Regions from separate parts of the Homo sapiens genome. Here regions 2 and 3 are each linked to region 1. Evidence: promoter capture Hi-C in 16 types of primary human blood cells and fetal thymus (Javierre and others, 2016). All regions are on one chromosome and are shown on one strand. Each heading gives the region's core, a stretch centred on a gene start or on the middle of the fragment in contact. The rest is flanking DNA. Distances are from core to core; before and after follow the strand shown. Region 1 holds the start of PNPLA2 (patatin like domain 2, triacylglycerol lipase). Region 2 holds the start of SIRT3 (sirtuin 3). Region 3 holds the start of BET1L (Bet1 golgi vesicular membrane trafficking protein like).

Region 1 (4,008 bases), core at 989-3,488:
TGACGTGCAGAGGCGCAATCATGGCTCACCCCCACCCAGCCCAGACTCAGTCCATCCTCCAACCGCAGCCTCCTGAGTCGCTGAGACTATAGGTGCGCGCACCACAGCTGGCTTAGTTTTTATTTATTTGTTTATTTTACTTTTTATTTTAAAAATATTTTTATTATTTTATTTTATTTATTTATTGTTTTTGAGACGGAGTCTTGCTCTGTCACCCAGGCTGGAGCACAGTGGTGTGATATCGGCTCACTGCAAGCTCCGCCTCCCAGGTTCACACCATTCTCCTGCCTCAGCCTCGCAAGTAGCTGGGACTACAGGTGCCTGCCACCACGCACCCAGCTAATTTTTTTGTATTTTTAGTAGAGATGGGGTTTCACCGTATTAGCCAGGATGGTCTCAATCTCCTGATCTTGTGATCTGCCCGCCTTGGCCTCCCAAAGTGCTGGGATTACAGGAGTGAGCCACTGTACCCGGCATTTTTATTATTTATTTATTATTATTTTTGAGACAGAGTTTCACTCTGTCGCCCAGGCTGGAGTGCAGTGCGGCGATCTGGGCTCACTGCAAGCTCCGCCTCCCGAGTTCACACCATTCTCCTGTCTCAGCCTCCGGAGTAGCTGGGATTACAGGCGCCCACCACCACACCTGGCTATTTTTTTTTTTTGTATTTTTAGTAGAGACAGGGTTTCACCATGGTAGCCAGGATGGTCTCGATCTCCTGACCTCGTGATCCACTCACCTCAACCTCCCAAAGTGCTGGGATTACAGGTGTGAGCCACTGTGCCTGGCCTATTTTTAAATTTTTTGTAGGGATGGAATCAAGCTATGTTGCCTAGGCTGGTCTCAAACTTCTGGACTCAAGCAATCCCCCCACCTTGGCCTCCCAGAGTGCTGGGATTATAGGTGTGAACCACTGTGCCCAGCCTAGAAGGAGTCGCTTTAAGTCAGGTATGGTCACGTCCTCCCTGCTTGACCCTCTCCCATGGCTGGGCTTCAGCTACTCTCTCCCCTCACTCCCCGACAATCTTCGCCTGTCCTGGTCGGCTGCCTGGGTCTGCTCATTTACCCTTCAAAATTCAACTCAGCATCACTTCCCACAGGGAAGCCCTCCAGAACCCCTTAGGTGCCCCACACGTGGTTACCTACCTCCTCTCACTCATTTTTCTTTTTTCTTTTTTTTTTTTTTTTTGAGAAGAAGTCATGCTCTGTCACCTGGCCAGGCTGGAGTGCAGTGGCACAATCTCAGTTCACTGCAACCTCTGCCTCCCGGGTTCAAGTGACTCTCTTGCCTCAGCCTCCCGAGTAGCTAGGACTACATGCGTGCACTACCACACCTGGCAAATTTTTGTATTTTCAGTAGAGACAGGGTTTTGCCATGTTGGCCTGGCTGGTCTCAAACTCCTGACCTCAGGTGATCTGCCCTCCTCGGCCTCCCAAAGTGCTGGGATTACAGGCATGGGCCACTGTGCCCGGCCTCTTTTTAGGACGGAGCCTCGCTCTGCCCCCCAGGCTGGAGTGCAGTGGTGCGATCTCAGCTCACTGCAACCTCCGCCTCCCAGGTTCAAGTGATTCTCCTGCCTCAGCCTCCCGAGTAGCTGGGATTACAGGCGTGTGCCACCCTGACCGGCTAATTTTTGTATTTTTGGTAGAGACAGCGTTTCACCAGCCAGGCGGTCTCAAACTCCCGACTTTCTGTGATCCGCCCGTCTTGGCCTCCCCAAGTGCTGGGATTACAGGTGTGAGCTTCCACACCCGGCCTCCTCTCATTTTGAGCTTATGTAAATGCCTACCGGCCCCCAGTAGGGCTGGGGCAGGGTTGACTTTCCAGTGCTGTCTGGGATGGCTGGGAGCAAAGAGGCTGAGGACTGGGCAGCATCCCCCTAGATGGCCCCATCCTGTTCTGGCCCTGTTCTGGCTTCCCTAACTCAGCTTGGGTTGGGGGCAGCCCCAAGCCCCATCCCAGACCCTCTGCAGCTCTGGCAACAGCTAGGTCCAGAGATGACCTCAGCCTGGGGAGCCAGTGTTCCTGGGGAGACAGAATCTCATTGCCTCCCACCCCAACCTGAGAAAGCCTCTCGTTTGGGGGTGGGGTGAGGTTCAGGGAGGGATCCTGGATCTACTCCAAGCCCTGTTTGCTCCACTGACCAGGAGAAAAATGCGGAAAAGGGGTGAAAGGGTGACATCACCCAGGATTGCTCCACCTCTGGGGCAATTATCGGGAGCAGGGCGGCCCCAGTCAGACGCAGGCAGCCCCAAAGCCTGAACAGGCAGGGCCAGACCCAGGTAAGAAGCCAAGGTCCGGAAGGGTCGCGGGCGCGGGGCAGGGCTGAGGCCCCACGTCAGGTCGCGTGGGTCTGCGGAGCTGGGGTCCCCCACGAAGGGTTTGCGGGACTCGCATCCGGCCTTGGCCTTGGATGTTTATGGGTCTGTCTGTGGGTGAGCCTGTGGGTCCCGGGGCTCCCGAGGCCTGTGCGGCTTTCAGGTCTGGGGGTGCTGCCGGTGCGCCTCTGTCCAGGGACCAGCTCCTCTGTCCCGGGTGGGTGTGGGAGGCGGACCCGGTGGGGAGGGGCGGTGGCTGCCCTGAAACCAGAGCTCCCTCTCGCCGGTACCCAGGTCTGTGTGAGGCTTCCGGCCCCCAGGCTCGGGCCTGCGCCCAGCCCACCCTACACCCCTAGGCGTGTGCCCCCAGCCGTGCCCAGCAGGGGCGGAGGGAGGGCAGAAGCTTTCTCCGGGCGGCAGCGGAGGGCGGGGCTCCAGCGCGGGGGGCCGGGTCAAGGACGGGGGCGGGTCCCGAGGGCACGGCCGTTCCCTGCGCGCCCCGATTGGTCTTCGTGTGCCGGCCCCGCCCCCGCCGTGAGTCCCACACTTAAAAGCGCCGCCTCCGCGCCGCCCGCGTAGCTTCTTCGCCTCCGCCAGCGGGGACCCCGAGCTAGAGCCGCAGCGGGACCTGCCCGGCCCCCGGCTCCAGCGAGCGAGCGGCGAGCAGGCGGCTCACAGAGGCCTGGCCGCCCACGGAACCCGGGGCCCGGCGGCCGCCGCCGCGATGTTTCCCCGCGAGAAGACGTGGAACATCTCGTTCGCGGGCTGCGGCTTCCTCGGCGTCTACTACGTCGGCGTGGCCTCCTGCCTCCGCGAGCACGCGCCCTTCCTGGTGGCCAACGCCACGCACATCTACGGCGCCTCGGCCGGGGCGCTCACGGCCACGGCGCTGGTCACCGGGGTCTGCCTGGGTGAGCGGGGCCGGGGGCGGCAGGCGGGGGGCTGGCGGGAAGGCCGTGCGGGGCCGGGGGATGGTCTCCGTGAGCGGAGGGGCCCCGCGGCGAGTCGGTGGGTACCGTGGGGAGGGTTCCGGTCCGCGCCTGGGGAACCCGGCGAGGATCCAATCCGGGTCGCTGGCCTGGGGGCGGGGCCTGGTTTGTTTTGCTCCGAGGGTGCCCGGGGCCCGCCTGTCTGGCGCAAAGGTTTGGGGGCGGGCAGGTGCAGCAAAAGCTGCTTAATTGGACAGAAAAAGTAACTCGTGGGCGGGACCGTGAGAATCCGAGGAGGGACCTAAGTCACCCCGTGGCCCTGGATATTACAACCGGTGCCAGCGATCGGTCACAGTGTCCTGGGCTTCCGCAGTTGCAGGCTGCTATCAGGGGGCCTGGCATGGGGGTAGCCTCTTGAGAGGCGTCTGGGAACCGTGACCTGGTCCTTCCCAAGGGCCCGGAGGAGGAGCCCCGCTGAGGTCAGGGCTGGGCGCGAAGGGGCTCTCCTGCCCTCTCCTTGCACACGGTGCCCTGTGGCCTGGCTCCCCGCTGCGGCCCACCGCGTTTGCACACTTCATGGGTGAGGGTGCTTCTGGGCTCTGGTGCCTGGGTCAGGAGTGGATGGGTCTCTGTGTGCTGGGCTGGCCTCGGCTCGCACCATCGGCTGCCATGAGGGAGTGATGTTTACAGCACACGACTTCAGGAGCCTGTGAGGACACCCAAGATGACAGGGGCACTCTGCTCAGCAGGAGCCTGTCCG
Region 2 (3,959 bases), core at 1,237-3,736, 580 kb before region 1:
TGGTTAAGGAGTCAAGAAGCAAAGAGGGAAAACCCTGGTTCTAAAACCATCTCACCACCTATTAAGCGCCCCACTTCACACAGCATTTCAGACATCTATTCACTTAAGGTCGTTCCCCAAACAGCTACTGTGCTCCTACTAAACACGAACTGTTAAGAGAAGCACAAAAGGAATGAAAGTTATTATTGCTGTTGAGTGCCTGCTGAGGGCAAGGTATCACGAAGGGTGCCTGAGTACATTCCTCATTTACGTAAATAAAATGTTTGTGAGTCACTGAAAAACACATAAACGGCGTTTTACCAAATGTCTGGAACATACGTAAGATGTATGGCTTAAAGTACATGCTGCATGGTGTGAAATTCACTGGGAGTGGGGGACCCTGAGGGGCAGGCATGGGTGCAACCTGGGAGGGACACTGTGCAAAGGACACAAACAACAAATTCAGAGAGCTCAAAAATCCAAAGCCAAACTGGAGGAAGCCCATGCAATGGACTACTCCTCACACGCAGCCCTATGCCTCCTGCTTTAGGGCCAGTGGTAGCAAGGATTTTTGTTTTGTTTTGTTTTGTTTTGTTTTGAGACGGAGTCTCGCTCTGTTGCCCAGGCTGGAGTGCAGTGTCGCGATCTCGGCTCACTGCAAGCTCCGCCTCCCAGGTTCACGCCATTCTCCTGCCTCAGCCTCCCGAGTAGCTGGGACTACAGGCACCCGCCACCACGCCTGGCTAATTTCCTTGTATTTTTAGTAAAGACGGGGTTTCACTGTGTTAGCCAGGATGGTCTCGATCTCCTGACCTCGTGATCCGCCCGTCTCGGCCTTCCAAAGTGCTGGAATTACAGGCGTGAGCCACCGCGCCCGGCCGCAAGGATTTGTTTTAACAGTTTTGCAGAGTATCACAGATATTAGAATGCGCTCCACGTGTTTGTAGGTCCTGGTCCCTGCTCCATCCATAGCACCTAGAACAGAGTCTGGCACAGAATAAGAGCTCAGTCAGGGCTTCTTGGATGAACGACTGACTCTTCGGGATCTTTGTTTTTTTTTGAGACGGAGTTTTTGCTCTTTCGCCCGGGCTGGAGTGCAATGGTGCCATCTCGGCTCACTGCAACCTCTGCCTTCCGGGTTCAAGTGATTCTCCTGCCTCCGCCTCCTGAGTAGCTAGGATTACAGGCGCCCGCCACCACGCCCGGCTAATTTTTGTAATTTCAGTAGAAATGGGGTTTCACCATGTTGGCCCAGCTGGTCTCGAACTCCTGACCTCGTTATCCACCCGTCTCATCCTCCCAAAGTGCTGGGATTACAGGCGTGAGCTACCGCGCCCGGCCAACTCTTCAGGATCTATTAAACTTTTTTCTTTTTTTTTTCCCACAGGTAGATAAGAGTCTTGCTCTGTCACCCAGGCTGGAGTGCAGTGGCTCAATCATAGCTCACTGCAGCCTTGAACTCCTGGACTCAAGGGATCCTCTTGCCTTAGTCTCAGGAGTAACTGGGACAACAGGCTTGCGCCACCATGCCCGGCTAATTTTTAAATTTTTGGTAGAGATGGGGGTCTCGTTATGTTGCCCAGGCTGCTCTTGAACTCCTGGCCTCGAGCGATCCCCGTCTCAGCCTCCGAAAGTGCTGGTATTACAAGTGTGAGCTACCACTTCGAGACTCACTTTTCACCAACATTTTCAGCAGTTGTGTCAGACAGCAAGTCAATGTGCCATTATTTACTTAAATATTCATCCATTATAGGGCATCTGATACCTAACAACCATGGACCTTAAGATTTTTTCCTATGTAGCCTCAGTTCTTAGATGCAATTACTATGGAGACGGGTACGATCACATGCCAGTGGGAGTATTAACCGCACAACATTTATGAGGGATCATTAAAGCGTTAAATGCATATACTTTTGGACCTAGCAATCCCAGTACTAGGAATTTATGCAAACAGTGAGGTGCCAACAAGGTTATTCACCACAGCATGATGCACAATAACTAAAGGTTAGAACGTATTTCAATGAGGGAATGGTGAAATAAACGACAAAACCCCCATAAGTGACGTCCACAGATCAGCATAAAGACGGAGGCCCCGGTGTTGGAACGCACGTAAACTCCCAGACATGCCGCAAAGGAAACACGGCAAGGTGAGAAAGAGTGGGCGAGGTGTCGACAACGAACACGCAAGAAGTGCTTGTCCTTGCCCAAAATACCTCGAAAAGAAGAAACTGGGAGCTGCTGCCCTCGGCTGCCTCCGGAATGCCCTGGGCACCTCGGGTCTGGGAGGCCTCTGCAAGGGGCGCGCCGGGTCCAAGGGCTCACCGCGGGCCCCATGGCTGCCTCTCAGCCCCGCACTCACATCGTCCCTGCCGCCAAGCACCAGCCGACAGCCGCAGGCCTGAAACGGCCCCACGCCTCCCCCGGCCTCGACCCGTTCAACTACCCGGCCCCACAGCCGGAGGGCTGCCGCGGCGCGCCAACCCCAGAACGCCATGTTCCGCGCAGTCCAAGGAGTCCTCCGGACTCGCCCCGCCCCCGGCGCCCCGGCCCCGCCTCCGCCTCCCACCCCCGCCCCCGGCGCCCCAGCCCCGCCTCCGCCTACCGCCCCCGCCCCCGGCGCCCCGGTCCCGCCTCCGCGCCCCGCCCCCGCCTCCTTGCCGACGCCTCCGGCGCGCCCAGGTAGACGTAGAGGCGAGTAGAGGAAGTTCCCTAGTCTGGTGTCTCATCTCTCGCCCCGGAGGTCAAACCTGGAGCCAGCATTTCTGTACCCTGCGCTCACACCTTTTTCAACCCGGATGGCGGTGATAGTTAATACTTTCTGAGCGCTTTTACTATGGTCAGGCATTATATTTACACCTAATCCTCGCAAAACACTACTGGGAAGATCCTCATTTGACAGGAGCAATTCCGGGTCACAAAGGCTGACACCACAAAGCTAGTCCGTAGCGGGTTCGACCACAGGCGCCCACACTCTTTGACGCCTCAATGGCACAGCCAAGTGCGCGGGAAGTGGGCTGCAAACGCCGGAGAGTTTTGTCCGGAGCGCAGAGACGCGCTGTAACCGAGCAACCAGCGGGGCCCGCCCCCGGCCTGCTACGGCGCTCCCAGCCTGCCCCGCGCCGCTCGGCGCCGGAAGTGAGTGAGCATTTCCGGCAGCCATCCCCGCGGTGCTGACATCCCGGTTGTTCTTCTGTGCCGGGGGTCTTCCTGCTGTCATGAAGGACGTACCGGGCTTCCTACAGCAGAGCCAGAACTCCGGGCCCGGGCAGCCCGCTGTGTGGCACCGTCTGGAGGAGCTCTACACGAAGAAGTGAGCGCCGAGCAGACGGGCCCTGGGCCCCGGCGATAGAGGGAGACGGAGGGGGCAGGCGGGCGGAGGAGCGGACCCTTGATGGGCTGAGGGCGCCCAGACCCAAGTTGGGGGGAAACGGGGACGTGTAGCGACCGGCTGTGCCGGCAAGGTTTGCTGAGGAACCTTGAGTGGCAGGGTCGAGGAATAAGAGGGATGACAGACCACGAGGGCCAAGAGCTGTAGCCAGGATGTTTCGGTCTGAGATTCACTGCTTCCTTAACGGGGGACTGAGACTGAGGCTTCTGAACTCCTACCTCGGGTCTTACTAAAACGGTTCAGGAGTAGCCTTTGATTTTAGCTCTTGATTCCATCTAACAAGCAAACACACTTTCAGGGCCACCACCCACTTTGGGAAACATGTTGGTGATTCGTGCTTAGCCTTGTCATAGTGTAACTGTATCTACAGTTATCTTTCTCATGGTCTGGAGTTGATAAACCAGAGGCTAGTACAGCTTTGCTGTTTTCCCTATTCATTCTGCAGCTGGTTGCACGGGGTGCAACCACTTCCGCCGTCCCATTGTCTTTACCTTCCATTGTATTTCTCATGGGCTTTCTGCCCCTAGAAAGATCTTAAAGTTTAGGTTTGTTTAGAAACAGGATGAATTGCAGAGCAATTAAATTCTTGCTA
Region 3 (3,967 bases), core at 1-2,500, 610 kb before region 1:
ACCAAGGTTCCAGCAGGTGAATCTTGCACATGAGACAGGCTGCATAAAGGACGATGTGTGTAAGGGCCTGTCATGTGAACACATGTCCTGTGTACACATCAAGGTGGGGATGGGCAAGCACCCACAATGGGTTCGGTCCAACCAGCACCTTCTGAGACTGTGTAGCAAAAACTGGACCCAGCCCTGGGGTGCTAGTATGATGTGACACTTGCATCCAGGGAGGTCACCATCTGTGTATGTGGAGCCCATTCTTATAGAAAAAGAGTAAACTCTGCTAAGAGCATAGAAAAGACTTGGGAAAAGTACCCAGCAAGGCAGCAGAAAGGCTCCTGCAGAGACGACCTTTGAGCTAGGTCCTGAAGAGGTGGCAAGGAACCAGGACAGAACATTGGGAAGGCCCTTTACCGCACAGAAAATGGCTGAGCAAAGTTCCCAATTTCCCCGAGACGGGAGCTGAGGTCGACCAGGAGCGGGATCCTTGGTCTGCATCCCGCATGGGGCTTCCTGCAACACCCAGGGCAGAGTGCTCGCAGAGGCCTGGCCTGTGACAGGCTGGGCCAGGGGATAAGGAAGTTCTGTCACATCAGGTGCGTGAGAACCACCTCCTCCCTAGCTTCAGTGTCAGGAAGGGATGCCAGCGTCCTTCCAGCCACTTCATATTTATAAATTCCTTTAATCATCATAACACCTCACAGAGACAGGCATCAATATCCCACTTTGCAGACAAGAACACGGGCTCCAGGAGGGGAAATGGGGCCACCGAGGCCAAAGTAAGAGTCCTGCTTGGACACCAGCGGAGCACAGCCTCTACTCCTAGGGCCTGGCCTCGGGACCTGTCGAATGCCGACTCCCGCTCACCCCGAACCCATGCAGAACGATCTCACAGGGGGCGGCGGGGAGTGGGGAGACCCCGCTGCTGCGCGACCCCTCGCTGGAGCTGCTGGGCCGCCACGCGCGCCTTCGGTCCTAACGGCAGTGCCGGCCGAAACCCGGCCCTGCTCGGACCCGGAAGGATCCGAATCCGCCCCCCTGACAGGGTCCTCTCGGCCGAGGTCACCCCAGCTGGGCCAGAGGCAGGCGCACGCGGCTCTACAGGCAGCGGCGTCGGTTTCGGCCCGGCCCTGCCCCCAACGGCTCCGCTCTCCCGCGCTCACCCCGAGCCCAGTCCGCCATCGTGCCCTGCCCCGGCTCCTCGACGCGGACACCGACGCGGCCACAGCCGCCTCAGACGTGGCGCAGTCGCGGGGAAAGAGCTTCCGGCCCCGCCCCCAGCTAGCGATGGCCCCGCCTCCGCACCGACCACGCCCCTAGATAGCCCAGCCCCTTCCGCTTCGGGCTCGCTGACTTCCGGCTTAGGGCCGAGGGTGGGGAACTGCCGGGCGCGGAAGCGATGGGCATATCTGTGGCTTATTTTCAGCACTGTCGCGCAGACAGTGGCGCGATCTCAGCTCACTGCAGCCCCCGCCTGCCGGGCTCCCAAGGTGCTGGGATTACAGCAGCACCGCGGATGTGACGTTTGGTGTTCCTGTGAACGTGGGGCGGGGCGGGGCCGTTTGCTTGCTCAGTGCCTAGACGATGGTGGTGGAAAGACGCTTCTGTGGGTTAGGTCCTAACGGTTAGGAAGGATTCACAGGCGGGTCATGAGGAAGGAGCAGACCCCTCGGGCAGAAGCCCGCGAGGAGCACTGGGTGTGGTGGGGGCAGGGGTGCCTCCTCTGTCAAGTGGAGATCGGCGCCTCGCTCGTGCCTGCGAGTGCGCGCCGCGTCGAATACAGCCGTACAGAACGCACTACAGGAAAGTGAAGCCGGGAGAGAGACTGGGAGGCGGCGCGGGGACTGGGGGCCGTAGACGCCTTTGCTCCCGGGCACTTGTTAGAAGAGCGAGTGGATCGCGCTTCCTGTGCGTCACTGAATCCTCATGACGGCCACTGAAACGGACACGCAGGATCTTTGCTTTTCAAGAGGGAACTGAGTCCAGGCCAGACTGGGTTGCTCCCCTTTCTCTCGGCCCCTCCACCTTTGCAAGTGCTGCTCCTTCTGCCTGGAGTGGCTCCTCCAGTCTTTTCCCGGCTCACTTCCCACCGTCCGGTGTCAGCAAAAACAGCACTTCCTCACAGCCCGTTGCAGCCCAGCAGTCGCCTTTTGCTTCTTTTGAAGCACAGCCCTGTGACCGCCTCGTGTCCTTTTGTTTTTCCTTGTCCCCCTTCCCCTCTGGAACATAAGCTCCACAAAGGCAGGGACCTGGGAATCCCGTTCGCCTGCATTCCCCAGCAAACGCCTAACGAACCCAATGGCCCAGGACTGAAAATTCCTTTCCACTTCGGCTTTCCCCTCTACATCCCATCGGTTCTGTGGAGCTCGAGGGGCGTCACTGTGTGTGTGGCAGGGCACGGTGGGGGCTGAGATCGTTTCCTGTTGGAACTTCTGGCCCAAGAAGCGCGGGTCACAAGGAGAGGGGTCAGTTCGGTTCAGAGCGACTCAGCCCCTCGACTCGGGTCTTAAAACCTCCGAGCCGCCAGTTCTGCCTCAGGCCGCGCCCCCTTAAAGCGCCACCAGACGCTGCGCCCCGTTAAAGCGCCACCAGACGCCGCGCCCCGTCCCGGCCTCCCCCGCGCGCTGGCGCGGGGCTTTCTGGGCCAGGGCGGGGCCGGCGAACTGCGGCCCGGAACGGCTGAGGAAGGGCCCGTCCCGCCTTCCCCGGCGCGCCATGGAGCCCCGGGCGGTTGCAGAAGCCGTGGAGACGGGTGAGGAGGATGTGATTATGGAAGCTCTGCGGTCATACAACCAGGAGGTAAGCGGCCGCCTGAGGCCGGGGGGCGGGCACGGAGGGGGTGGGGCAGGGTCGTGCGCGGGTAGCAGGGAGGGCGTGGGTGAGGCAGAGGCTGTGTCAGCAAGCGTAGGGGACGCGGCGGGGTGCGGGGGGCAGGTCTGGGATGCAGTGTTGCGGGGAGAGTGGGGGTGCACCCGTTGGGTGGCAGGCGTGTAGGGATGGGGGCGAGTGCCGACCCTGCCATCCGTTCTGAGCAGTGGCTGCTGCCTGAGTTAGAGGCCAATAGGCCGCCCGCATCAGCGGACGCGGATCCTACCCCTCTGTGGATTTGAATTCACTAGTTCTCTCTGCAGCACTCCCAGAGCTTCACGTTTGATGATGCCCAACAGGAGGACCGGAAGGTGGGTGCTGGCCCAAGGGGTAAAGGGGCAGGGACGGGTGGCCCCAGGAAGAAGGGCCTGGTGGAGCCGCTCTTCTCCCTGCCCACAGAGACTGGCGGAGCTGCTGGTCTCCGTCCTGGAACAGGGCTTGCCACCCTCCCACCGTGTCATCTGGCTGCAGAGTGTCCGAATCCTGTCCCGGGACCGCAACTGCCTGGACCCGTTCACCAGCCGCCAGAGCCTGCAGGCACTAGCCTGCTATGCTGACATCTCTGTCTCTGAGGGGTCCGTCCCAGAGTCCGCAGACATGGATGTTGTACTGGAGTCCCTCAAGTGCCTGTGCAACCTCGTGCTCAGCAGCCCTGTGGCACAGATGCTGGCAGCAGAGGCCCGCCTAGTGGTGAAGCTCACAGAGCGTGTGGGGCTGTACCGTGAGAGGAGCTTCCCCCACGATGTCCAGTTCTTTGACTTGCGGCTCCTCTTCCTGCTAACGGCACTCCGCACCGATGTGCGCCAGCAGCTGTTTCAGGAGCTGAAAGGAGTGCGCCTGCTAACTGACACACTGGAGCTGACGCTGGGGGTGACTCCTGAAGGGAACCCCCCACCCACGCTCCTTCCTTCCCAAGAGACTGAGCGGGCCATGGAGATCCTCAAAGTGCTCTTCAACATCACCCTGGACTCCATCAAGGGGGAGGTGGACGAGGTGAGCACTGACCTTAACCCATGGATGGGTCTCAACTCAGCTCCAACATTTCCTGGACCTGCTTCCTACTGGGTACCTTCAGGTTTCTGGGTGTCAGACATGGAGAGGACAGGAC

The links. Contacts are between HindIII fragments. The CHiCAGO score rates a contact against its expected background, and 5 or more counts as called.
Region 2: a contact is called between the fragment with the promoter of SIRT3 here and the fragment with the promoter of PNPLA2 in region 1, in 1 of 17 cell types (non-activated CD4 T cells). The highest score is 6.5, in non-activated CD4 T cells.
Region 3: the fragment with the promoter of BET1L here is called in contact with the fragment with the promoter of PNPLA2 in region 1 in 5 of 17 cell types (neutrophils, total CD8 T cells, fetal thymus and 2 more); the score reaches 11.8 in neutrophils.

The regions. Positions count from the first base shown.
Region 1 is chr11:816,676-820,683 of GRCh38, forward strand. It overlaps PNPLA2 (patatin like domain 2, triacylglycerol lipase), which reads left to right and starts at 2,239. Exons shown (of 10, transcript NM_020376.4): 1 at 2,239-2,283; 2 at 2,899-3,230. The coding sequence starts at 3,044. RefSeq lists enhancers at 1,994-2,288, 3,824-3,873 and a silencer at 2,484-3,373. The HindIII fragment of the contact is 6,852 bases long and covers 1-2,720 here.
Region 2 is chr11:233,856-237,814 of GRCh38, forward strand. It overlaps SIRT3 (sirtuin 3), which reads right to left and starts at 2,487. Exons shown (of 7, transcript NM_012239.6): 1 at 2,193-2,487. The coding sequence starts at 2,473. It overlaps PSMD13 (proteasome 26S subunit, non-ATPase 13), which reads left to right and starts at 3,121. Exons shown (of 13, transcript NM_002817.4): 1 at 3,121-3,289. The coding sequence starts at 3,195. RefSeq lists a silencer at 2,553-2,632 and enhancers at 2,783-2,972, 3,133-3,372. The HindIII fragment of the contact is 9,250 bases long and covers 1-3,959 here.
Region 3 is chr11:206,149-210,115 of GRCh38, forward strand. BET1L (Bet1 golgi vesicular membrane trafficking protein like) reads right to left here and starts at 1,251. Exons shown (of 4, transcript NM_001098787.2): 1 at 1,155-1,251. The coding sequence starts at 1,173. RIC8A (RIC8 guanine nucleotide exchange factor A) reads left to right here and starts at 1,560. Exons shown (of 10, transcript NM_001286134.2): 1 at 1,560-2,790; 2 at 3,123-3,170; 3 at 3,259-3,852. The coding sequence starts at 2,707. MIR6743 (microRNA 6743) reads left to right here and starts at 3,188; the gene lies at 3,188-3,258. RefSeq lists enhancers at 1-166, 477-978, 1,525-2,146, 2,002-2,171, 2,147-2,766 and 1 more and silencers at 923-982, 1,093-1,212, 2,274-2,472, 2,473-2,762, 2,833-2,942. The HindIII fragment of the contact is 6,341 bases long and covers 1-3,967 here.